Linked DNA regions of Homo sapiens: regions 2, 3, 4, 5, 6 and 7 are each linked to region 1. The links are contacts of gene promoters, found by promoter capture Hi-C in blood cells and fetal thymus (Javierre and others, 2016). All regions are on one chromosome and are shown on one strand. The core of a region is centred on a gene start or on the middle of the fragment in contact, and the rest is flanking DNA. Distances in the headings are between cores, read along the strand shown.

What was found. The method cuts DNA at HindIII sites, captures the fragments that hold promoters and counts their contacts. A CHiCAGO score of 5 or more calls a contact.
Region 2: a contact is called between a fragment that was not itself captured here and the fragment with the promoter of HPSE in region 1, in 2 of 17 cell types (neutrophils and total CD4 T cells). The highest score is 5.7, in neutrophils.
Region 3: a fragment that was not itself captured here is called in contact with the fragment with the promoter of HPSE in region 1 in 3 of 17 cell types (total CD8 T cells, neutrophils and activated CD4 T cells); the score reaches 7.6 in total CD8 T cells.
Region 4: a fragment that was not itself captured here is called in contact with the fragment with the promoter of HPSE in region 1 in 1 of 17 cell types (total B cells); the score reaches 5.6 in total B cells.
Region 5: a contact is called between a fragment that was not itself captured here and the fragment with the promoter of HPSE in region 1, in 3 of 17 cell types (neutrophils, total CD4 T cells and naive B cells). The highest score is 6.8, in neutrophils.
Region 6: a fragment that was not itself captured here is called in contact with the fragment with the promoter of HPSE in region 1 in 11 of 17 cell types (M0 macrophages, total CD4 T cells, non-activated CD4 T cells and 8 more); the score reaches 7.8 in M0 macrophages.
Region 7: a fragment that was not itself captured here is called in contact with the fragment with the promoter of HPSE in region 1 in 4 of 17 cell types (M0 macrophages, M2 macrophages, total CD4 T cells and 1 more); the score reaches 6.9 in M0 macrophages.

The regions. Positions count from the first base shown.
Region 1 is chr4:83,333,162-83,336,699 of GRCh38, reverse strand. HPSE (heparanase) reads left to right here and starts at 1,852. Exons shown (of 12, transcript NM_001098540.3): 1 at 1,852-2,144. The coding sequence starts at 1,918. The HindIII fragment of the contact is 2,644 bases long and covers 772-3,415 here.
Region 2 is chr4:82,848,926-82,852,463 of GRCh38, reverse strand. It overlaps SEC31A (SEC31 homolog A, COPII component), which reads left to right. Exons shown (of 27, transcript NM_001077207.4): 19 at 860-1,033; 20 at 3,487-3,538. Among named protein-coding and RNA genes, the nearest start is that of SEC31A, 40 kb to the left of the region's middle. The HindIII fragment of the contact is 6,463 bases long and covers 1-3,538 here.
Region 3 is chr4:82,878,966-82,882,503 of GRCh38, reverse strand. SEC31A (SEC31 homolog A, COPII component) reads left to right here. Exons shown (of 27, transcript NM_001077207.4): 2 at 564-646; 3 at 1,582-1,705. The coding sequence starts at 568. Among named protein-coding and RNA genes, the nearest start is that of SEC31A, 10 kb to the left of the region's middle. The HindIII fragment of the contact is 2,032 bases long and covers 723-2,754 here.
Region 4 is chr4:82,952,756-82,956,293 of GRCh38, reverse strand. The region is part of intron 4 of LIN54 (lin-54 DREAM MuvB core complex component); the gene reads left to right. Among named protein-coding and RNA genes, the nearest start is that of THAP9-AS1, 54 kb to the right of the region's middle. The HindIII fragment of the contact is 5,227 bases long and covers 1-3,538 here.
Region 5 is chr4:82,992,473-82,996,010 of GRCh38, reverse strand. All of the region lies in intron 1 of LIN54 (lin-54 DREAM MuvB core complex component), which reads left to right. Among named protein-coding and RNA genes, the nearest start is that of LIN54, 17 kb to the left of the region's middle. The HindIII fragment of the contact is 4,223 bases long and covers 1-3,538 here.
Region 6 is chr4:83,037,880-83,041,417 of GRCh38, reverse strand. All of the region lies in intron 1 of COPS4 (COP9 signalosome subunit 4), which reads right to left. Among named protein-coding and RNA genes, the nearest start is that of COPS4, 4.5 kb to the right of the region's middle. The HindIII fragment of the contact is 679 bases long and covers 1,176-1,854 here.
Region 7 is chr4:83,063,511-83,067,048 of GRCh38, reverse strand. It overlaps COPS4 (COP9 signalosome subunit 4), which reads right to left. Exons shown (of 10, transcript NM_016129.3): 8 at 496-611. Among named protein-coding and RNA genes, the nearest start is that of COPS4, 30 kb to the right of the region's middle. The HindIII fragment of the contact is 785 bases long and covers 1,255-2,039 here.

The sequences.
Region 1 (3,538 bases), core at 603-3,102:
AGTTGCAAAACTCACTATGAGCTTAGCTTTTAAGTTGCTTAAGAATAGGTAGATCTATGCAAATAATGATAATTATTATTATTATTTTAAGAGAGGGTCTCACTTTGTCACCCAGGCTGGAGTGCAGTGGTGTGATTAAGGGTCACTGCAACCTCCACCTCCCAGGCTCAAATAAACCTCCCACCTCAGCCTCCCCAGTAGCTGGAACCACAGGCACGGGCCACCACGCCTGGCTAATTTTTTGTATTTTTTGTAGAGATGGGGTTTCATCATGTTGCCCAGGCTGTTCTTGAATTCCTCGGCTCAAGCAATCCTCCCACCTTGGCCTCCCAAAATGCTGGCATCACAGGCATGATGGCATCACTGGCATCACATACCATGCCTGGCCTGATTTATGCAAATTAGATATGCATTTCAAAATAATCTATTTTTATTTGTTGCCTTATTGGTGGTACAATCTCAAGTGGAAAAATCTAAGGGTTTTGGTGTTATTTGCTTACTCAACCAATATTTATTAGACTCTTACTAAGCACCAACATGATCACATGCCTGAGCTATGGCTAGCATAGCGTGTGAGACAAACTTAATCTCTGTTTTGGTGGAGCATATAATCTAGTAGATGAAGCCAATGTTGAGCAACATCACAATACTAACAAATTGAGGATGCTACGAGAGTGTCTAACAAATTGAGGATGCTACGAGAGTGTCTAACAAATTGAGGATGCTATGAGAGTGTGTCATGGAGAGCTGCCTGGAGATTGAGAGAAAGCTTCCTTGAGGGAAGTTACATTTCAGCTGAAACACACTGCCATCTGCTCGAGGTTTTGTAACTGCATTCACATCCCGATTCTGACACTTCACATCCCGATTCTGACACTTCACCCAGTTACTGTCTCAGAGCTTGGGTCCGCATGTGTAAAACAAGGACAGTATGCACTTGGCAGGGTTGTGAGAAGGGAAGAGAACACAAGTAAAGCACCTGTATCAGGCATACAGTAGGCACTAAGCGTGCGATGCTTGCTATGATTATACATCAGTGTAAGCATCAAGGAAAAGCTGAAGAAAAGTCTGACCAACAGCGAAAGATAAATGCGCAGAGGAGAAATTTGGCAAAGGCTCCAAATTCAGGGGCAGTCCGTACTCTACACTTTGTATGGGGGCTTCAGGTCCTGAGTTCCAGACATTGGAGCAACTAACCCTTTAAGATTGCTAAATATTGTCTTAATGAGAAGTTGATAAAGAATTTTGGGTGGTTGATCTCTTTCCAGCTGCAGTTTAGCGTATGCTGAGGCCAGATTTTTTCAAGCAAAAGTAAAATACCTGAGAAACTGCCTGGCCAGAGGACAATCAGATTTTGGCTGGCTCAAGTGACAAGCAAGTGTTTATAAGCTAGATGGGAGAGGAAGGGATGAATACTCCATTGGAGGTTTTACTCGAGGGTCAGAGGGATACCCGGCGCCATCAGAATGGGATCTGGGAGTCGGAAACGCTGGGTTCCCACGAGAGCGCGCAGAACACGTGCGTCAGGAAGCCTGGTCCGGGATGCCCAGCGCTGCTCCCCGGGCGCTCCTCCCCGGGCGCTCCTCCCCAGGCCTCCCGGGCGCTTGGATCCCGGCCATCTCCGCACCCTTCAAGTGGGTGTGGGTGATTTCGTAAGTGAACGTGACCGCCACCGAGGGGAAAGCGAGCAAGGAAGTAGGAGAGAGCCGGGCAGGCGGGGCGGGGTTGGATTGGGAGCAGTGGGAGGGATGCAGAAGAGGAGTGGGAGGGATGGAGGGCGCAGTGGGAGGGGTGAGGAGGCGTAACGGGGCGGAGGAAAGGAGAAAAGGGCGCTGGGGCTCGGCGGGAGGAAGTGCTAGAGCTCTCGACTCTCCGCTGCGCGGCAGCTGGCGGGGGGAGCAGCCAGGTGAGCCCAAGATGCTGCTGCGCTCGAAGCCTGCGCTGCCGCCGCCGCTGATGCTGCTGCTCCTGGGGCCGCTGGGTCCCCTCTCCCCTGGCGCCCTGCCCCGACCTGCGCAAGCACAGGACGTCGTGGACCTGGACTTCTTCACCCAGGAGCCGCTGCACCTGGTGAGCCCCTCGTTCCTGTCCGTCACCATTGACGCCAACCTGGCCACGGACCCGCGGTTCCTCATCCTCCTGGGGTAAGCGCCAGCCTCCTGGTCCTGTCCCCTTTCCTGTCCTCCTGACACCTATGTCTGCCCCGCCAGCCGCTCTCCTTCTTTTGCGCGGAAACAACTTCACACCGGAACCTCCCCGCCTGTCTCTCCCCACCCCACTTCCCGCCTCTCATTCTCCCTCTCCCTCCCTTACTCTCAGACCCCAAACTGCTTTTTGGGGGGTATCATTTAAAAAATAGATTTAGGGGTTACAAGTGCAGTTCTGTTCCATGGGTATATTGCATTGTGGTGGCATCTGGGCTCTTAGTGTAACTGTCACCCGAATGTTGTACATTGTATCTAATAGGTAATTTCTCATCCCTCATCCCTCTCCCACCCTCCCACCTTTTGGAGTCTCCAGTGTCTACTATTCCACTAAGTCCATGTGTACACATTGTTTAGCGCCCACTCTAAATGAGCCTTTTTGTTTCATTCATTCTGTAAGTGTTGAATAGGCACCACCTAAGGTCAGGTATAAGTGGAAATTTGAAAAAGAAACTGCCCACTTGCCCCAGTACTTCCCTAGCCAAGAGGAGGGAAACCAGGCAGGTGCACCTGAAGGCCTGTGAGTGCTTGATTTGCTGTGCAGTGTAGGACAAGTAAGATTGTGCATAGCCTTCTGTATTTAAGACTGTGTTAGGAAGATTTCTCTTTCTTTTCTTTTCTTTTTCTTTTTTCTTTTCTTTTTTTTTTTTTAGGCAGATGAAAAGGGCGTCACAGAACAGGAATAAAAATCTAAATATTCAATAAATGAGACCTAGGAGACTACTGCAGTGACTTACAAAGTCCTAATAAAAAGATGTCTCTCCAAAATGGGGCTGCAAAATGTGGTGCTGCCTTATCAGCTCTAAGTTTTTTCCTTACCTGAGAAAGAAGGAACCTGATGCAGGTTCAGGGCTCCTGCCCCATGAATGCAGGCTGACTCCAAGATGGGGAGCTACAGGGACAATCCCAGGTCTTCTAGGCCTCTTATTTAGGCCCTGGGAGCCTCCAGAGATGGCCACATCTTGACCAGCCCAGATAGAGGGAAAGATCACCATTATCTCACCTCTGTGTCAAATACCTAGATGCTGTCCTCCCTGAGCCCACACTATAGTTGCCAGCGCTAATTTAATGGGTAGTGTACTGGTTAAGAGATGGACAGACCATCCTGGCTTGACTCTCAGCTCTGGCAAAGATGAGTGACTTGGTTTTTCCATATCTCTTGGCCACACCAACCTTGATTTCTTCAGCTGTAGAATGGAATTTCTCAAGCTTGCCTCAAGGATTATTGCCCGAGGATTTGATGATATGGTAAGAGCTTCTCAGTGTTTGACCCATAGTAAGTGTTTGACGTTTCAAACGAATTGTTTCTTTCTAGGACATGGTGAGCATTTGGT
Region 2 (3,538 bases), core at 636-3,135, 480 kb after region 1:
GCATAGCTCCCCATTGTGGAAAGATTTGGTATTGAATGGCACATGAGAGCTTTGAGTTAAAATAGTAAACTCCTTTGGAAATCACATGCCTCTGTCTATGGGTCACCTCATAGTAGTACTATTTTTATAGGATAGATGGTGTGATGTTGTATTAGTCCATTTTCATACTGCAATGAAGAAATACCCAAGACTGGGTAGTTTATAAAGAAAAAGAGGTTTAATGAACTCACAGTTCCACATGACTGGGGAGGCCTCACAGTCATGGCTCAAGGTGAAGGAGGAGCAAAGGCACGTCTTACATGGTGGCAGGCAAGAGAGCATGTGCAGGGGAACTGCCCTTTATAAAACCATCAGATCACTGTCAAGAGAACAGCACTGGAAAAACCTGACCCATGATTCAATTACCTCCCACTGGGTTTCTCCCATGACACATGGGGATTATGGGAGCTAGAATTCAAGATGAGATTTGGGTGGGGACACAACCAAACCATATCAGATATTTTCACTCATAGTTCCTCCCATACAGGCTAGAACACAGTTTCTACCTTTAGACATCTGCCTATCATTTTCACTTTGAGTATTTGCCTGTTTTAGCTCACTAGACAAGTATCTGGTAGCTTAAGGATATTTAGGAAAAGGTGGTAACCTTCCTATCCTACCCTATCCATAAGTAAGAGGCCTTCTTCCTCCTTACTACTTTTTCACTTACCTAAATAGTGGCTGTACTTTTCTAGGAGGGATGATAACAGGTACTATATTTTTAGTGGGTTTTAGAAATCTTAGTAACTCTTGATCTTTTCCTGCTTCCTCTCATACATGGTCTTGATATTTCTGTTTGTTACTCATTTTTTTCATTTAGGATCTGATTGAGAAAGTTGTCATCCTGCGAAAAGCTGTGCAACTCACTCAAGCCATGGACACTAGTACTGTAGGAGTTCTCTTGGCTGCGAAGATGAGTCAGTATGCCAATTTGTTGGCAGCTCAGGGCAGTATTGCTGCAGCCTTGGCTTTTCTTCCTGACAACACCAACCAGGTAATTAGAATTGACCATTTTTGTAATGTTTGAGTAAGGTGAGTCCAGTAGATAACACTTAGCATTAGATGTAAACATATTAGTAGGTAGAATGTTTTGGAGCAGTTGAATTTCTGTAACCTGACTGCAGGTAAATGTTATTGACAATTCTTCAGGGATCATTTTAGGTGTATCTAAGCTGTGTTAGAGAGATAGGATAATCTTGCAGTGCGATAGATTCCTTTGTACCGACATAGTATTTTAGGAAAATGAACAGGGAAAAGACCAACTTTTTATTTCTAAAGCCAAATGCTGATTCTTCATACAAAGTTCTTTGTAGGAATATTTTATGTCAAAAAGCTATAAATGTTAATGTTTAATCAAACAAATGGAGTTGTTAACATTTTTAAAATCCCATATGTTCCATCCCAGATAGTATTGAAGTTCATTCTGTATGCCATTTTAGTTTGATACTGTCTGTGGGCAAGTATATTTTTATGTATTCAGAGCAGAGGGAACTAATTAGATTGTCCTTACTTATTGCACAATAAAACTTGGGCAAAACTATACTTGTTTCAATTCAATTCAACAAGTGGGTATAGAATGGTGAATAAGATTGCCAAGATCCTTCCTCTAGGAAGCCTCCAAACTCAATTTGGCTATGGACAAGTAAACATGAGATTCCAGAAGTGTGATATAAGTACTGTGATAAGGGTATTGGTGCTGTGGAACCCAACAAAGGGAAACCCAAACCCAGTTATGGAGCATGGGTAAAAGTACGGGTGAGGTTTGAGGAAACTTTTCCACAACAATATATCTGCATTTTGTGTCTGATGGAGCTTGATTTTGAGCCTTGCAGATACAGTCTTGTCTCTGTACTTTTTTATTAATCACTTTATTCTGTATTTTATGTATTTTTTTAGTCAATTGTTTCTAGTATTTTGTCTGTTTTAGAGAATTATTGATAAATTTCATTGAGTAAAAGTACATAATATTCTCCAGGACTATGGAGGTAGGACTCTCTAGTTGGTTTTGTATACACTTAGCTGTAAGATCCATCTCATTTGTTTCTGAATTGTTGATGGGAATGTTAGATAGAATAGCTGATACATAATCTTTTCCTTTATGGTGACTTTGGCATACTAGTTTTGTTAAGACTTTTTACCTAATAAGTAAAAAGTTATAAGTAAATAGTTATATTGAGGTATATTATAAGAACCTTTATCTTAAGACTAATTTGCTTTAAGACCCGTAGCTCATCTAGCTTAATTCATTTTCAGTACCATTTATAAGCACATCCATTTTCTATACATTATTCTTCATGCTTTTTTTTTTTTGGACTTTAAAGAACATTCTTTAGGCCAAAAAGCATAATTTTGATGTTGTTTCCTATTTATCTCAGTAGACCCTGCCTTTTTTGGTGGGGGGAATACGTCCTGAGACTTTGTGATAGCATTGTAATATATAATTCTCCCCCCCAAAAGGCAAATAAAATATGCCTAAAACATTTAAATGATCCCTTTAAACCTTTAACAAATATATAGGAATGTATAATTTTTAAAGATACTAAAATCTTGCTGAAACATTTTAACACATTGCCTTTTTGTTATTTGTTAATACTTAGAGCATATATAGGGTCACCTCATACTTTTGTAAGTCTCTATGCATGTAGATCTGTATGAGCTACAGATCTGAATTTCACATCTTAATCTTTATTTCAAAAATCTCTTTTAACATTTTCATCTCTTTCTTAAATCACCATTTTCTTCAATAACCACCTTTAGTAGTTGATTCTCTTTGGTGGCCTCTTTTAGTTATAGTTTTTTTTTTTTTTTTTTGAGACGGATTCTTGCTCTGTCGCCCAGGCTGGAGTGCAGTGGTATGTTCTCAGCTCACTGCAAGTGCCGCCTCCCTGGTTCACGCCATTCTTCTGCCTCAGCCTCCCGAGTAACTGGGACTACAGGTGCCCGCCACCACACCCAGCTAATTTTTTGTATTTTGAGTAGAGATGGGGTTTCACCGTGTTAGCCAGGATGGTCTCGATCTCCTGACCTCATGATCTGCCTGCCTCGGCCTCCCAAAGTGCTGGGATTGCAGGCGTGAACCTCTGCGCCTGGCCTTAGTTATAGTTTTTAAAGTAGTTTTGTAATTTATGAGCATTAGGTAACCACAAGAAAACATCAAAAGAGTAGTAATAAGTGATATTGGTCTTGCATAGTAACCATGAGGTAGGTATAACTCAGATCTCTGCCTCAGTTAAATTACAAGTTGCACTGTATGTCATGGACCTTTGGTGCCAGTCTTGAGTAGTAGAAAGCACAATGTCAAATCTGTGTGTCAGGGTCTATTGTATAATACCCAGCATTATGAACAAAAAGGGATATCTTGATGAATAATCTGATTAAGAAAATTAACATGCTGTCATATACCTGGGTGAACTCTCAACAGTCTGCTGTTTTTCCAATCCTTTTTAGCCAAATATCATGCAGCTTCGTGACAGACTTTGTAGAGCACAAGGAGAGCCTG
Region 3 (3,538 bases), core at 489-2,988, 450 kb after region 1:
TCAACTGAAGAACTATAATCTGTAAACAGAATAGCCCAGTATTTGTCTCAAAATGGTTTATCAAGTTTGTCTTTTTTTTTTTTTTTTTTTTTTTTTTTTTTTGAGATAGAGTCTTGCTCTCTCGCCCAGGTTGGCATGCAGTGGTGCAATCTCAACTCACTGCAAGCTCTGTCTTCCGGGTCATGCCATTCTCCTGCCTCAGCCTCCTGAGTAGCTGGGACTACAGGTGCCCGCCACCACGCCCGGCTAATTTTTTGTATTTTTAGTAGAGATGGGGTCTCACCATGTTAGCCAGGATGGTCTCAATCTCCTGACCTCGTGATCCGCCCGCCTTGGCCTCCCAAAGTGCTGGGATTACAGGCATGAGCCACCCGGCCTCAAGTTTGTCTTCTTTCTAATGAATATATCCAACAAATGACACCTAAACCGATTTGATTTATTTGCAGTTGGGCATTACTAATGTTGTAGTGGTTTGTTCAGTATGTTTCTATTTAAAATATCTGTGTTCTGTGTTAGACATTCAAGTCATTCAAGGCTGTTTCTGTATAAAATATTCCCTTTAGCAGGATGAAGTTAAAGGAAGTAGATCGTACAGCCATGCAGGCATGGAGCCCTGCCCAGAATCACCCCATTTACCTAGCAACAGGTAAGTTCAAAGGAGAGAAGATAGTATGAGTTACCTAATTTCTTCTCTTCTGCACCTAGCTTATTCAGTTTAAGCTTTATCTTCTCTAGAAAGCCTCTCTCTCCCTGGCAAGTTACTGACATTCTATCAGCCAAGTTTAGTGTTCTTCCTCTGTGTTCCCATAGCATTTTGATCATGATGTGTTACATCTAAAATATTTTCCTTCACAGGAATTGTATTTTATCTTTATTCCTCCAGTATTAAGCACAATAGATGGCATGTAAAAAAAACAGTTAATATCAGTTTGAATGAATGAAGAGCAATTTTGATGTTAGCATTTTTATATAAAAAGAAATAGTTATATCATATATGTCTATAAGCAGATATAGTAAATCACGGGACTTTTTTTTTTTTGAGATGGAGTCTTGCTCTTTCGCCCAGCCTGGAATGCAGTGGCGTGATCTCTGCTCACTGCAAGCTCCACCTCCCTGGTTCCTTCCATTCTCCTGCCTCAGCCTCCCAAGTAGCTGGGACTACAGGCGTCCACCACCATGCCTGGCTAATTTTTTGTATTTTTAGTAGAGATGGGATTTCACCATGTTAGCCAGGATGGTCTTGATCTCCTGACCTCATGATCCACCCATCTCGGCCTCCCAAAGTGCTGGGATTACAGGCATGAGCCACCGTGCCCAGCCCCCATCACGGGACCATTTTTACAGAGATTTTTAAATATATACAGGCTTAAAAAATTATTTACACTACCCACTCTTATAAACATCCTCTCCTAGCCCTGTGCCAGAATCTCATTGCTATAGTAATTTAAGCATCTGCTCAATGGCATATGTGCAGCATTCATGAGCAAGAGAATGGAAAACATGCTTTTAACTTCTGTTTTGTATGGTTTCTCTGATCTTTTATTTTTGTGTGTATAGTTACCATAAATATATTTTCTATAGGAACATCTGCTCAGCAATTGGATGCAACATTTAGTACGAATGCTTCCCTTGAGATATTTGAATTAGACCTCTCTGATCCATCCTTGGATATGAAATCTTGTGCCACATTCTCCTCTTCTCACAGGTATGAGGTTCAGCTTTAAATTCATGTGATTATTTAATTATATATTGTTCTTGATTCCTAATTTGTCTATAATTATGCCATTATTAGAAACTACAAGGAATACCATCAAGAACATGAAATATTTTGTGAAAAAGCATGTGAGTGAATTTTTATGGAAGTAAAAGTAGTGTTTATGTGTTCTATTGACTTTTTTTTTTCTTTTTTTTTTTTGAGACAGAATCTTACTTCATAGCTCAGGCTGGAGTGCAGTGGCACGATCTCGGCTCACTGCAACCTCCACCTTCCAGGCTCAAGCAATTCTTGTGCCTCAGCCTCCCGAGTAGCTGGGATTACAGGTGCACACCACCTTGCCCAGCTAATTTTGTGTCTTTAGTAGCGACAGGGTTTTGCCATGTTGGCCAGGCTGGTTTTGAACTCTTGACCTCAAGCAATCCACCCACCTTAGCCTCCCAAAGTGCTGAGATTATAGGCATGAGGAATCACGCTTGGCCAGTATGTTCTGTTGGCTTTTTTATTGCTGTTACATGTAAGGTAGGAAGGAGAGGCTGTAGTTTCTAGCATTTTTTTCTGTTTTTTTGGTGTGTGTGTGGTTTTTTTTGTTTTTGTTTTTTTTTTGAGATGGAGTTTCACTCTTGTTGCCCAGGCTGGAGTGCAATGGCGCAATCTCGGCTCACCACAACCTCTGCCTCCTAGGTTCTAGCAATTCTCCTGCCTCAGCCTCCCGAGTAGCTGGGATTACAGGCATGTGCCACCATGCCTGGCTAATTTTGTATAGAGTTCTTTTTTCTATCTCCTTTATTGTGCCTGTTTACAAAAAGGTAGATGTGACTAGAAAAGGAGTAGTCATCGTAAGTATTAATAGTGATTATCTCTGAATGGTAGCTTATTTTTATTTTCTTCTGTTACGATATTTAGAAATATATCTCACAGTTTTGTTGACACGATTTCTAATACACTAGGTAACTAGGTATTTGGATCATACTTTCAAGTACTTATGCCCTATTGTAATGCAGAGAAAGGAGGTCTTCATTTCAGTAATAAAATAAGCTTTATTGCCTCAATATATTAGCAGGGTTTAAAGAGATTGCTCTTTAGCTGACAGAATATAGCTCAAATCATGCAGTTTCATGGGACCGCTCATATTCTTCAGAGCTGTCACAGTGGGATGGGAACCCCAGATACCTTTTGTCTAGTAGTTTTTCTGCTTACTACCATCTGTATCATCGTATACCTTTCTGCCTTCATATTTCATCTCCATTCTGGACCATATATTTTATTCTCTAATAGTAGGGGTACTTGTTATAATCTTGATGTCATTTTTCTACCATTAGAATACATTCTTTTTCTTAGAAAATTTCACATGACTCCTTTAACACCTTTACTATTTAACAGACCACTTGTTAGTGACCCCCCCTTTTTTTTTTTTTCAGACAAAGGTCAAAGCATGAGACCCTTCTATAGTCAAATAAAGAGTGTTTTTACCTTTCGAGGGAAGTGATTGATTAGCTCTATTTTACAATGAACCAGAGGCAATTTAAGAAGATTAAGTAACTTAGGGTCTCACAGTTTCTAAATGGTAAAATCATTCTTAAGCTCATATTTTTTGACACACAACTCAAGTATATTTTGTTACACTACCTTACAAGAGTTTTTACTCTTTAAGGATTACAAAATCACATATGCAAATATGAGTATAAATAAAAAATGAAATACTATTACACCAAAGTCATACATAGTTACCAGGAGTGGTGGGAAAGTAATATATTTGGATTGTTTATGAAAACATTAAAAATTAAGTGTATAATTTCAATTTTTTGTCTACATTTATTTGAC
Region 4 (3,538 bases), core at 387-2,886, 380 kb after region 1:
ATAAAAAATAAAAAACACTCTTACTATAGAAATTTAAAATATAGGTCGGGCATGGTGGCTCACGCCTGTAATCCCAGCACTTTGGGAGGCCAAGGCAGGTGGATCTCCTGAGATCAGGAGTTCAAGACCAGCCTGGCCAACATGGCAAAAACCCATTTCTACTAAAAATACTAAAAAATTTAGCCGCGCGTGGTAGCAGGTGCTACTTGGGAGGCAAGGCAGGAGAATCACTTGAACCCAGGAGGTGGAGGTTGCAGTGAGCTGAGATTGTGCCACTGCACTTCAGCCTGGGTGACAGAGCAAGACTCCATCTCAAAAAAATTTCAAATATATTAAAAGGTTGAAATAGCAATTAACCCCCATGTACCTTTCATCCAACTTTGGAATTATCAACTTGCCTATTTTTTGTCACCCTGCTTCTCATTTTTTAGGTTAATCATGTCATTTCATCTGTAGATGTGTCTTTATGTATAGAAAAGATAGGGACACTTTTGGGAAAAAAACTTACGCACAGTCTTTTAATTTTTTTTTTTTGTAATGAGATAGGGGTCTTGCTGTGTTGCCTAGGCTGGTCTTGAACTCCTGAGTTCAAGCGATCCTCCCACCTTGGCCTCCCAAAGTGCAGAGATTACAGGCATGAGCCACCATGCCTAGCTCCTTTAATGTTATTAAATACCTAGTTAGTGTTCACATTTCCCCAGTCATCATATTTTTTTCACTACGTTTGAATTGAGATCCAGTTCTATATGTCTGTCTTTATAAGTTTGGAAATGATTGATATTTCTCTTAGTTTTATGATCTCCTTTTTCTTGTTGCCTTTTACCATGTGTTTTGCAGATATTTTCTCTCAATCTATGGCTTGTCTGTTCATTATGTTATGTTATGTTATGTTATGTTATGTTATGTTATGTTATGTTATGTTATTTTTTTGAGATGGAGTCTCGCTCTGTTGCCCAGGCTGGAGTGCAGTGGCGCAATCTCGACTCATTGCAACCTCCACCTCCCAGGTTCAAGTGATTCTCTTGCGTCAGCTTCCTGAGCTGCTGGGATTACAAGTGGATGCCACCAAGCCCAGTTAATTTTTGTATTTTTAGTAGAGACGAGGTTTCAACATGTTGGCCAGGCTGGTCCTGACCTCAAGTGATCCGCCTCCTTCGGCCTCTCTAAGTGCTAGGATTACAGGCGTGAGCCACCGTACCCGGCCTGTTCATTCTTTTAACAGTGTATTTTTAAAAAATCATGTTCTTGAATCATATTAACAGTGGTTTTTGCAGAGCAGTTTTTAACTTTAATGAAGTTTAACTTACCAGTTTTTTCTTTCATGGATTGTCCTTTTGGTAGTGTATCTAAAAAGATAGAGCTAAACTCAAGGTTACCAAATGTTATCTTCTAGGAGTTGTATAGTTTTGCACTTTATGTTTAGGTCTGTGAGCCCTATGTGAAAGGTGTAAGGTCTGTGTCTAGATTCCTTTTTTTGCATGTGGACCTTCTGTTATACCAGCACCATTTGTTGAAAAAGACTATCCATTCTTCATTAAATTGCTTCTGGTGCTTTGTTAGAGGTCAGTTGATTGTGTTGGGTGTGGTCTGTTTTTATGTTCTCCTGTTAATTAGTCATTTTCAGTCTTTGCCAATTTAACTGATTAAAAAATGTCATATACCAGCCTGGCCAACATGGTGAAACCCCGTCTCTGTTAAAAATACAAAAATTAGCCGGGCATGGTGGTACGCACCTGTACTTCCTACTACTTGGCAGGCTGAAGTGGGAGAGTCACCTGAACTGGGGAGGCAGAGGTTGCAGTGAGCCAAGATCACACCACTGAACTCCAGCCTGGAAGACCCAGTGAGACTCCGTCTTAAAAATAAATAAATAAATAAATAAATAAATAAATAATCTCATATAAATTTGTATTTTTAAAAATTATTCATATCTGTCTTCTGGACTTATTTTCTGTGAACTCCATGCCTATTGCATTGTCTTTTTTCCCTTGTGGTCTTAAAAATGTCTGTGGTACATTAAGGAACTTATTTCTTTATTATTAATGTGGTTACAAATATTTTTCTCTGTGGTTTGTTCTATATAATGTTTTTCCTTGCAGAAATTTCACATTAAATAAGTCAAAATTTAGTCTCTTCATGTGTGAATTTTTAGTTTTTGAGTCACACTTGGATAAGTCTTCCTTACTCCAATATTTATCTATTTTGAAAATCATTTAATTTTATGTTATTTTTTTACATGTAACATTCCTTTAGTACAAATTAAGTACAGGAACAGATAGTTTTTTTTAACTTTATGAAATGGTTAAATTGGTATTTGATTCTATATCATTTTGATCCTGATTTTTTTTGTTTTTGAGACGGGGTCTTGCTCTGTCACCCAGGCTGGAGTGCAGTGGTGCGATCGTGGCTCACTGCAGCCTTCACCTCCCAGGCTGAGACAATCCTCCCACCTCAGGGCTAGGACTGTAGGCACATGCCACCATGCCTGCATAATTTTTTCAGTTTTTGTAGAGATGGGGTTTTGCCATGTTGCCCATGCTGGTCTTGAACTGCCTGGCTCAAGTGATCTGCTCACCTCGGCCTCTCACATTGCTGGGATTACAGATGTGAGCCATTGCATGCCAGGGCGATACTGACTGATTTTCATAACTTAGCTTGCAAAGTGGATATCTATTTTTCTTTATTTTTATTTTTTTAAAGACAGAGTCTTGCTATGTTGCCCAGGCTGGTCTTAAACACCTGGCCTTAAATGATCCTCCCATCTCAGCCTCCCAAGTAGCTGTGATTACAGGTGTGAGTCACTGTACCCAGCTATTTTTTCAATTTTTTAAAATTGTGGCAAAATATACGTAATATAGGATGTACCATCTTTTTAAATTATACAGTTCAGTGATATTAAGTACATTCATATTGTTCTGTAAGTATCACAACCATCCATCTCCAGAACTGTTTTCTTCTTGTGAAACTGAATTTCTATATCCTTTAAACAGTCACTCCCCGTTCCAGTCTTGCATGCTGGCACAAGCCTGTAATCCCCAGCACTTTGGGAAGCTGAGGTGGGAGGGTTGCTTGAGCCCACGAGTTCAAGATCAGCCTGGGCAACATGGTGAGACCCCCATCTCTATAAAAATTAAAAAATTAGCTGGGCGTAGTGATGCATGCCTGTAGGCCCACCTACAGGAGGCTGAGATGGGAGGATCCCTTGAGCCCAGAAAGTTGAGGCAGCAATCGCTGCCTCGCGAGTGCCTAAGCTATTGCACCACTGCTGTCCAGGCTGGGCCACAAAGCGACATCTTGTCTCTAAAGAAATTAAAAATAACCCTTCATCTTTTCTCTCCTTAGTCCCTGGAAGTCACTATTCTACTAATGTCTCCATAATTTTGACTATAATACTTCATATAAGTGTAAACATACAATATTTGTCTTTTTGTGATGGGCATATTTTACTTAGCATAAGGTCCTGAAGGTCCATTGGTGTTATAGCATATACATCAGAATACCCTTCCTTTTTAGGGCTGAATAATATTCCATTGGATAT
Region 5 (3,538 bases), core at 564-3,063, 340 kb after region 1:
ACCACGCCCAGCTAATTTTGTATTTTTAGTAGAGACGGGGTTTCTCCATGTTGCTCAGGCTGGTCTTGAACTCCTGACCTCAGGTGATCCACCCACCTTGGCCTCCCAAAGTGCTGGGATTACAGGTGTGAGCCACCGTGCCTGGTCCTGAAACTTTCTTTTAGCATAGGCCACCATGCCCTGCATGTGACCCTGATTGAAACAAACAGGGAGGCCAGGAGTAGAGGCTGACGCCTGTAATCCCAGCACTTTGGGAGACCGAGGCGGGTGGGTGGATCACGAGGTCAGGACATGTAGACCAGCCTGGCTAACATGGTAAAACCCTGCCTTTACTAAAAATACAAAAAATTAGCCGGGTGTGGTGGCACGCACCTGTAGTCCCAGCTACTTGGGAGGCAGAGGCAGGAGAATTGCTTGAACCCTGGAGGCAGAGGTTGCAGTGAACTGAGATTGTGCCACTACACTCCAGCCTGGGTGACAGAGCGAGACTCCATCCCAAAAAAAAAAAAAAAAAAAAAAAAGAGATAAGGATGTGTAATCATAAGACAGTCATCTATATTCTGTTCTGTAGTTTATGAGCTATCCTGGCTCTGGAATAGTCTCTGTCTATTACATAGACTCTGGCCAAACCAATCAGACCTTTTTTAAAAAAAAATTAAATTTAAATTAAAAATAAATTAAAATTAAATTAAATTAATTTTTTTCCCCCCAGAGACAGGATCTTACCCAGTCACCCAGGCCAGAGTGCAGTGGCACTATCATACCTCACTGCAGCTTCAAACTTCTGAGATTACACTTTCCTCCTGTCTCAGCCTCCCGAGTAGCTGGGACTTTAGACATGCCCCACCACGCCTGGCTAATTTTTAAAAATTATTTTTTTGTAGAGAAGAAGGTCTTACCATGTTGTGCCCAGGCTGGTCTCCAACTCCTGGACTTAAGCAGTCCTCTTGCCTTGGCCTCCCAGAGTGTTGGGATTACAGGTGTGAGCCACTGAACCTGGCCCAGACCTTTTCTTGTTAGAAGTTTGGACTTTGCTCCTAGTTCAAAGGGAGAGTCCCACTCCTATAATTCTCAGTCTCTTTTAACAGGACAGGTAAAAACGTATGTTCTTCTGACAACAGAACTTCAAAATATATGAAGCAAAAATGTGCAGAAGGGGAGACGTAAACAAATCCACCACCATATTTGGGGATTTTAACACCCTAAAAATTTATTAAGGATATCAAAGATCTGAATAACTCTATCAACCAGCTTTTGCTAACTGACATAAATAGAATACTACCCTCAGCAACTATTAAAAAAAATGTTCTTGGCTGGGCAAGGTGGCTCATGCCTGTAATCCCAGCACTTCGGGAGGCCAAGGAGGGCGGATTGCCTAAGGTCAGGAGTTCGAGACCAGTCTGGCCAACATGGTGAAACCCTGTCTCTACTAAAAATACAAAAAAATTAACTGGGCGTGGTGCCATGCACCTGTAATCCCAGCTACTTGGGAGGCTGAGGCAGGGGAATTGCTTGAACCGGGGAGGTGGAGGTTGCAGTGAGCCCAGATTGCGCCACTGCACTCCAGCATGGGTGACAGGGCAAGACTCTGTCTCAAAAAAAAAAAAATTCTTTTAAAATGCACAAGGAGGATTCACCAAGAGAGACCGTATACTGAGTCAAAAAATAAGTCTCTAATTTCAAATGATGAGAATGTTAAAGAGTATTATGTTCTCTGACAATACTATAATTAAATTAGTAATCAATAATAATAGCATAGCTAGAAAATCTCCAAGTGCTTGGGAATTAAATGGCACACTTCTTTATTATCCATGTGTCAGGTAAAATCACAAGCAATATTAGAAAACATTTGAAGTGAATGATAATAAAAACGTATTGAAATTAATGGAATACATCTAAAGAGCTTTGGGGAAAAGTTTTCATATTAAAGGCTTACTGTAAAAAAGAAGAAAGTTTTAAAATCAATCAATCATTTAAACCAGGAGTTGACAGACTTTTTGTGTAAAGCTCCAGGTAGCAAATATTGGAGGCTTTGTAAGTCATGTAAGTCTGTCATATTCCCCCTTGCCCCAACCATTTAAAAATGTAAATATCAGGCCAGGCGTAGTGGCTCATGCCTGTAATCCCAGCACTTTGGGATGCTGAGGCAGGTGGATCAGTTGAGATCAGAAGTTCAAGACCAGCCTGACCAACATGGTGCAACCCCATCTCTGCTAAAAATACAAAAGTAGCCGGCATGGTGGCATGCGCCTCTAATCCCAGCTACTTGGGAGGCTGAGGCAGGAGAGTTGCTTGAACCTGGGAAGCAGAGGTTGAAGTGAGCCAAGATCACACCACTGCACTCCAGCCTGGGTGACAGAGTGAGGCACTGTCTCAAAAACAAACAAAGAAACAAACAAAAAACCATTTTTAGGTAGGAAGCAATATATAAAGACCATGGGCATCATTTAGTATTTTGGTGAACCCTGATCTGTGTTTCCATCTTAAGATTCTAGCCGGGCGCGGTGGCTCACCGCTGTGATCCCAGCACTTTGGGAGGCCGAGGCAGGCGGATCACCTGAGGTCTGGAGTTTGAGACCAGCTTGACCAACATGGAGAAACCCTGTCTCTACTAAAAATACAAAAAATTAGCCAGGGGTGGTGGCGCATGCCTATAATCCCAGCTACTTGGGAGGCTGAGGCAGGAGAACCGCTTGAACCCAGGTGGCGGAGGTTGCAGTGAGCCAAGATTGCACCATTGCACTTCAGCCTGGGCAACAAGAGTGAAACTCCATCTCAAAAAAAAAAAAAAAGATTCTAGAAAAAGAAGAACAAATCAAACAGAAGCAAAGAGGTAAAGATAATAGTTAATTTAAATAAAAAATGGGCCAGGCACAGTGGTGCATGCTGAGAGGCCAAGCTGGGCAGATCACTTGAGCTCAGGAGTTTGAGACCAGCCTAGGCAACGTGGTAAAACCTCATTTCTTTTTTTTTTTTTTTTTCTGAGACAGAGTCTCGCTTTGTCACCCAGGCTGGAGTGCAGTGGCGTGATCTCAGCTCACTGCAAGCTCCGCCTCCTGGGTTCACGCCATTCTCCTGCCTCAGCCTCCCGAGTAGCTGGGACTACAGGCACCTGCTACCATGCCCGGCTAATTTTTTGTATTTTTAGTAGAGACGGGGTTTCACCGTGTTAACCAGGATGGTCTCAATCTCCTGACCTCGTGATCCACCCACCTTGGCCTCCCAAAGTGCTGGGATTACAGGCGTGAGCCACCACGCCTGGCCGGGGACACCTCATTTTTACAAAACAAAAGCCAGGCATCGTGGTGCATGCCTCTAGTCCCAGCTACTTGCGGGGCTGAGGCAGGAGGATTGCTTGAGCCTGGGAATTCGACGCTTCAGTGAGTCGTGTTCACGCCACTGTGTCGTGGTTTGCTTGCTACAGCCTCCAAGTCAAGGGAGTGTGAGCTAGGACTACAAGCAGGCCCTACCACACCCAGCTAATTTTTATCTTTATTTTGTTGAGATGGGGTCTTGATATGTTGTCCCGACTGGTCTC
Region 6 (3,538 bases), core at 266-2,765, 290 kb after region 1:
TGACTGATATGGAGAATGTGACAAGTGCCAAATATTTTCTTCCTTAAAAAAATTTGGCCGGGCGCAGTGGCTCACGCCTGTAATCTCAGCACTTTGGGAGGCTGAGGTGGGCGGATCACCTGAGGTCAGGAGTTCAAGACCAGCCTGCCCAACATGGTGAAACTCTGTCTCTACTAAAAACACAAAAATTAGCCGGGCGTGGTGGCGTGTGCCTGTAGTCCCAGCTACTCAGGAGGCTGAGCCAGAAGAATCGCTTGAACCCGGGAGGTGGAGATTGCAGTAAGCCAAGATCATGCCACTGCACTCCAGCCTGGGCGACAGAGTGAGATTCCATCTCAAAAAAAAAAAACAAAAAACAAAAAAAAAAAACTTATGGAGGAAAATAAGTTTTATTACTAAGGCATCATACATCTCTCCTATCCATTTATCATCAGTGAATTGAGCATCTTTAATGTATATGAACCAAATTCAGTATGTTGATTCTTAATTTCTTGGCACTTGAAAGGAATCTGGAGATAAATAAAGCATGAAAATGTACCACAGTCATCATTTAAGATCACAATGGGTGGTAAAGGTAGGTATTAACAGATCTTCCACTTACAGTAATGGTGAACTAAACGACTGGACCAACCCTCCCTCAAAAAAAAAAAAAAAAAAGCCAACATAAAAAGCTGAAAGAAATGAAAAAAAAAATGTAATTGCATAAAATCCTAACAAGAAAGGTAAAATGAGGAAAATAAGATAAACCATATATTCTGTCTAAAGGCATTTGCTGACTGTGGAAAGATGGCTGAGAGGTAGAGTGGCACTTCTTGTAGGGAGGAGAAGGTGGGCTCACTGCGAATCTGCTGGAAGCACTGAGAAGCAAGCTGCCATTTCTGGCAGACTAATAGAGCTGCACAAATGGGAATGGAAGTTCCATATTCTGCCAAAGGAGGAGACACACACTTTGGAAGTAAGGTTACAAATTCTATCCCAAGACCACCCAGGTAAACCAAAAAAATTCTGAAGCCTTGATTATACACTGTTAGCACCCTCAGGTAATGAAATTTCTCTCTAGAATCAACAAAAGCAACAGACAATCGCAACAACCAAAACGTCAAATACTGACTGGAGTTATCAGAAAGAGCATGATACAATTATGCTTACAATGTTCATGGGGATAAAGACAAGCTTTAAAGTTTCAGCAACAGACCAGGAGCCATAAAAAGTATCATTGGAAAAAAGAACCACCAGAAATTACAGAGCTAAAAAATACAACCCAACTTAGAAACTCAATGGAGTACTTAACGGCAGATTAAACACAGTTGAAGAAGTGATAAACTAGAAGGTAGGCCTGAAGAACTAATCCAGAATAAAGCATTGAAATGGAAAAGACAGAGTAAGAGGCCTAGAGGTTATAGTCAGTGGGCCTGACAGGGATTTCACCGGAGCCTAGAGGAGAAACAGAATGGGGCAGAGGCAACATTTAAAGAGATACAGGCCAAGCACAGTAGCCCACACCTGTAATCCCAACACTTTTGTAGGCCGAGGCAGGAGAATCCCTTGAGCCCAGGAGTTCGAGACCTGCCTGGGCAACATAGGGAGACCCCATCTGTACCAAAAAAAATGTTTTTAAATTAGCCAGGCATGGTGTCACGTGCCTATAGTCCCAGCTACTCAGGAGGCTAAGGCGAGAAGATTGCTTGAGCCAAGCATGTTAAGGCTGTAGTAAGCCATGATCTCTCTACTGCACTCAAGCCAGGGCAACAGAGCAAGACCCTGTCTCTAAAATAAAATAAAGAGATATAACTGAAGACATCTCAAGACTGATGAAATGATTTAATCCATTGATTCAGGAAACCCAGTGAAGCTTAACCAGGATAATGTGACAGAGTGCTTACAAAAAACGGCCACAATATAATTTCACTCCCAGTACCCATGTCCCTTTACAATACAACTTTGTAGCTCTTCATATCAAAAGGTAGAGTTTATTTCCCTACCCCTTGAATCTGGGGTTAACCAATAAAACGTGGTAGAAATGAAGTGCTAGTTCTGAGCCCAGACCTCGAGAGGCCTTGTATGTGTTTGTCTTTTGGAACCCTGCTGCTGTCACATGAACAGGCTCAGACTAACATACTGGCTAATGAGATATGTAGCCCAGTCAACTATATTGCCCCAGCCAACAAGCCAGCCAATCCACAGAAGCAGAGCTGCCTACCTGGCCTGGCTGGCAGCTAACTATAGACCCACATGGGAGCCCATGTGGAACCAAGACCACGTGGAGCAGAAAAGAACCATACAGCTGGGCCCAATCCAAACTACCAACCTACAGAATTATAAGCTAAATAAGTGACTGTTGTTTTAAGCCCTAAGTTTTGGGGTTTATTTCACAGCAAAGGGTAACTGACATAGAAAAGTAAAAACAAATCCACAGACATATCATAATGAAGCTACACAAAATTAAAGACAAAATCTTAAAAACAGGTAAGTGCTGGCCAGGCGCGGTGGCTCACGCCTGTAATCCCAGCACTTTGGGAGGCCAAGGCAGGTGGATCACAAGGTCAAAAGATCGAGACCATCCTGGCCAACATGGTGAAACCCTGTCTCTACTAAAAATACAAAAAAAAGTAGTCGGGTGTGGTGGCATGCACCTGTAGTCCCAGCTACTTGGGAGGCTGAGGCAGAAGAATCGGTTGAACCCGGGAGGCAGAGGTTGCAGTGAGCCGAGATCGCGCCACTGCACTCCAGCCTAGGCAACAAGAGTGAAACTCCATCTCAAAACAAAACAAAACAAACAAACAAACAAAAAAAACAGGTAAGTGCTAATATAATTTTTAGGAGAGAGAAATCATTGGATGGGGTTGATCTTTAAACATTCTAAGTATTTCAATTTAATAACAGTAGGAAGACAGGCATTCTAGGCAAAAATAATCACTATCTGAAGTGTAGTCAATTTTTTTTTGTGAAAATAAGGCCAAAAAGGTAGATGTGTTTGTTTAGAGTTAAGGGCTCATAGGCAAGCAGATATGGACTGTCTTCTAGCTTCACCACTAGCTGTGTGACCTCAGAGCAAGGTATTTCAACTCTGTACTTTGGTTTTCTCTTATTATAATGTAAATAATATCACTACTATCACCTACTCCTACTTGTTAAGGATTTTTAAATGTAAGTAATGTTGTGCTTCGCACAGTAAACTCTAGATGTTATTGACTTTCACTCTAGAGATGAAAACCACTAAAACTGTTGTGTTTGGGACAACAAAGAGAGAATCAGAATCTGAGTTAGAAGGGGCCTTTGAGGCTATCCTCAATAAAGTCTATCCTCCGTTGTGGCTCTCCTATTCTAAAGCTTTATGTGAGATAATAAATACAATGCATAATATGCACAAAAGCAGCCTATAAAATGGAGGAAATGCTTTTCCTCTGGCTAATTTCTTATATAAACTTTAGACAGCTGTGTTAATTCACAGTTATGGGAAAGCATTTCTAACTGAGTTTTTAACAAGAAAACGAGCATAGTCTGGTAGGTTTAAAATGAGCTTTTTAGAGTAGATGAA
Region 7 (3,538 bases), core at 398-2,897, 270 kb after region 1:
AAATTTCACTGCCAGAGAAAAAGGGATGCGACCCATAACTGCACGACTTTTAAGGTTTATAAATTAGCTAAAAGTAAGGTTGCTTAATTTTATTTAAAGTTAAGAGAATATTTTGTAAATGATACCTGCAATACTCTCTGAATGTCATTGGTACTTTGTTGGATTTAAACAGACACCAAACAAAGACATTCTCAGAAAATGGGTGTCATAACCTGAAACTCCTGAAAGACTTCTATTCTAGGTCACTTTATCACAAAACACAATTTAAAACACCAAAAAACACTAAGACAATTCCACTAATAAACACTAGGCCTATTTTAACTTCTAAAGAATGTATTTACTTGTGGCTTTTTAGGTGTAATTCTGTTGTTGTTTCCAACATTTATTTTGTTGGAAGATAATAAATGTTGTTTCCAACATTTATTTTATTTTCTCATTATTTTAATAGTTTCATCTCTTAACTTTTTTTTAAATGTATTGGAATCAAGAAGATACCTTAGCTGCAGGGATCTCTAAAAGAGCTCCAAGTTCTTCGAAGGTAATATTATTATATAATTTGCTTGCAGACAACAAATTGTGTTCAATAACAGCTCTGTCCAAGATGCTGGAACCTTAAACATAAATAAGACAGTTACAAGTTTGAAACTAGTTTTATACTCTAAAAAGATGCATCATTTTTTCTGAAAATGTCTAGGCACGTAATAACTCATCCTCTTTAACTCCTCTGATCAAAATTTTAAAAGTAGCCAATATATGATGTAGTTTCATTAATGTACAATTAAATAAAAATAACATTTAGCAAATGAGTGATTGGCAAGTAATTATTAAGCATATAGATCTAACCCCTTTGGGTTTAGAATCTTGCTTCTTCAGGCTATCAAATTAACTTTTTTTTTTGAGACAGAGTTTCATTCTGTTGCCCAGACTGGAATGCAGTGGCACAATCTCTGCTCACTGCAACCTCCGCCTCCCAGGTTCAAGTGATTCTCATGCCTAAGTATCCTGAGCAGCTGGGACTACAGGTGTGCACCACTACACCGAGCTAATTTTTTGTATTTTTAGTAGGGACAGGGTTTCGTCATGTTGGCCAGGCAGTTCTCACCTACCCTCAAGTGATGCGCCCACCTGGGCCTCCCAATGTGCTGCGATTACAGGCATGAGCCGCGGCACCAGCCCATTAACTTTTCTTTCTACAAGCATAAACTTTTACTAGCAAGCAGCAGCACAACAATCATGCAACCTGTTCTGCAAGCTTGATAAAGTGATCTCTATTCTTTTGGGAACTCCAGGAGCATCAAACCAAGGCAAATGTGAGAAATATCCAGATCCAGATCCAGGATCCGGCTAACCCTCCTGAAAGATCAGGCATAGAATCCTCTTTTAAGTGAGGTCATACAGTATCTCATAATGTTCTGGACCCAGGGTCCTACTTTGAATGTATTAGACCACTGGGCTCACCCAATGCTTACATATTTCTGCTGAACATTTAACTACTATAATGAGTGCAGGGGACAAAATATACTTGGAGACTTCAAGGGAAGTATTCTGAGAACCTCTTTTTCTTACAATGCCTCACTTCTCCTTTTCCAGAATTCCACCCACGATCTGCTAGTTTTTCACTTAACTCCTATCTCCCAGTCTACCTTGCTGCTTCCTCCTTCTTTTCCTTCTCTGAAATATTAGAGGGTTTAATTTTGCACCTTCATCTCTTTTTATCCTACATTGTCTCAATACCATCAAAATGCTGATAATGATCACATATCTCTAATCTAAATCTCCCTTTTGAATTCAGACTTACACAGCCAACTACCTAAATTAAATATCCAATCCAGTAATTTTATAAATATCTCAAATTTAATATGTTCAAAAAAGCAGGCAGGTGCAGTGGCTTACCCCTATCATCCCAGCACTTTGGGAAGCCAAGATGGGAGGAACTGCTTGAGCCCAGGAGTTCAAGACCAGCCTGGGCAAAATGGAGAGATCCTGTCTCTACAAAAAAATTTAAAAATTAGCAGGGTGTGGTGGCACATGCCTAAGCTTCTGGGGAGGTGGAGGTAGAAGGATCCCCAAGAGGTGGAGGCTGCAGTGAGCTATGGCATCATGCCAGCGCCAGCCTGGGCAAAAGAGTGAGACCTTGTCTCAAAAAGTAAAAAAAAAAAAAAAAAAAAAAAAAAAAAAAGGGACTGCTTAACCAGGCACAGTGGCTCATGTCTGTAATCCCAGTGCTCTGGAAGGCTGAGGTGGGAAGATTCTTTGAGGCCAGGAGTTCAAGACTAGCCTGGGCAACACAGTGAGACCCCAACTCTACAAAAAATTAAAATATTAACCAGGCATGGTGGTGTGCACCTGCAGTCCCAGTTACTTTGTTCCAGGCTGCAGTGGGCCATGATTGCACCAGTGCACTCTAACCTGGACAACAGAGCACGACTGTAACTAACAAAAAAAAAAGAAAAAAGAAAAACTTCTCTCCTCAGTCTGTTCCTCTCCCAATCTATCCCATGTCAAAAAGTAGTACAGCAGGCAGAGGGGAGGCAAGAATAAGGAGTTATTGTTTAATAGGTACAGAGTTTCAGTTTGGGAAAATGTAAAAGTTCTGGAGATGGATGTTGGTGATGGCTGCACAACAATGTGAAAGTAATGCCACAGAACTGCACACCCAAAAATGGTTAAAATGGTAATTTTTATGTTTTATATATTTATCACAATTTTTTTTTAACAAGGTCTTACACTGTCACTGAAACCGCAGTGCAGTGGGGCAATCACGGCTCACTGTAGCCTTGACCCCCTGGGCTCAAGCAATCCTCCTACCTCAGCCTCCCGAGTAGCTAGAACCACAGGTATGTACCACCATGCTTAGCTGTTTTTCTTTATATTTTGTAGAGATGAGGCCTCACTATGTTGCACAGGTTGGTCTGAAACTCCCAGGCTGAAGAGATCCTCCCGCCTTAGCCTCCCAAAGTGCTGGGATTACAGGCATGAGCCACCATGCCCAGCCATAATATATATTTTTTAAGTAGTACAGCAGTATACCCAGTTAAAAGGATTGTATTGCCAGGCACTGTGGCTCACGCCTGTAATCTCATCACTTTGAGAGGCTGAGGGGGGCGAATCACCTGAGGTCAGGAGTCCGAGATCAGCCTGAGCAACATCCGTCTCTACTAAAATTACAAAATTAGCCGGGCGTGGTGGCGCATGCATGTAATCCCAGCTACTTGGGAGGCTGAAGTAGGAGAATCACTTGAACCCGGGAGGCAGAGGTTGTGGTGAACCGAGATCGCACCATTGCACTCCAGCCTGGGCGACAAGAGTAAAACTCTGTCTCAAAAAATAAAATAAAAAATAGGCCAGGTGTGGTGGCTCATGCCTGTAATCCTAGCACTTTGGGAGGCCGAGGCAGGCGGATCACGAGGTCAGGAGATCGAAACCATCCTGGCTAACACGGTGAAACCCCATCTCTACTAAAAGTACAAAAAATTAGCCAGGCGTGGTGGCGGGCGCCTGTAGTCCCAGCTACTCGGGAGGCTGAGGCAGGAGAATG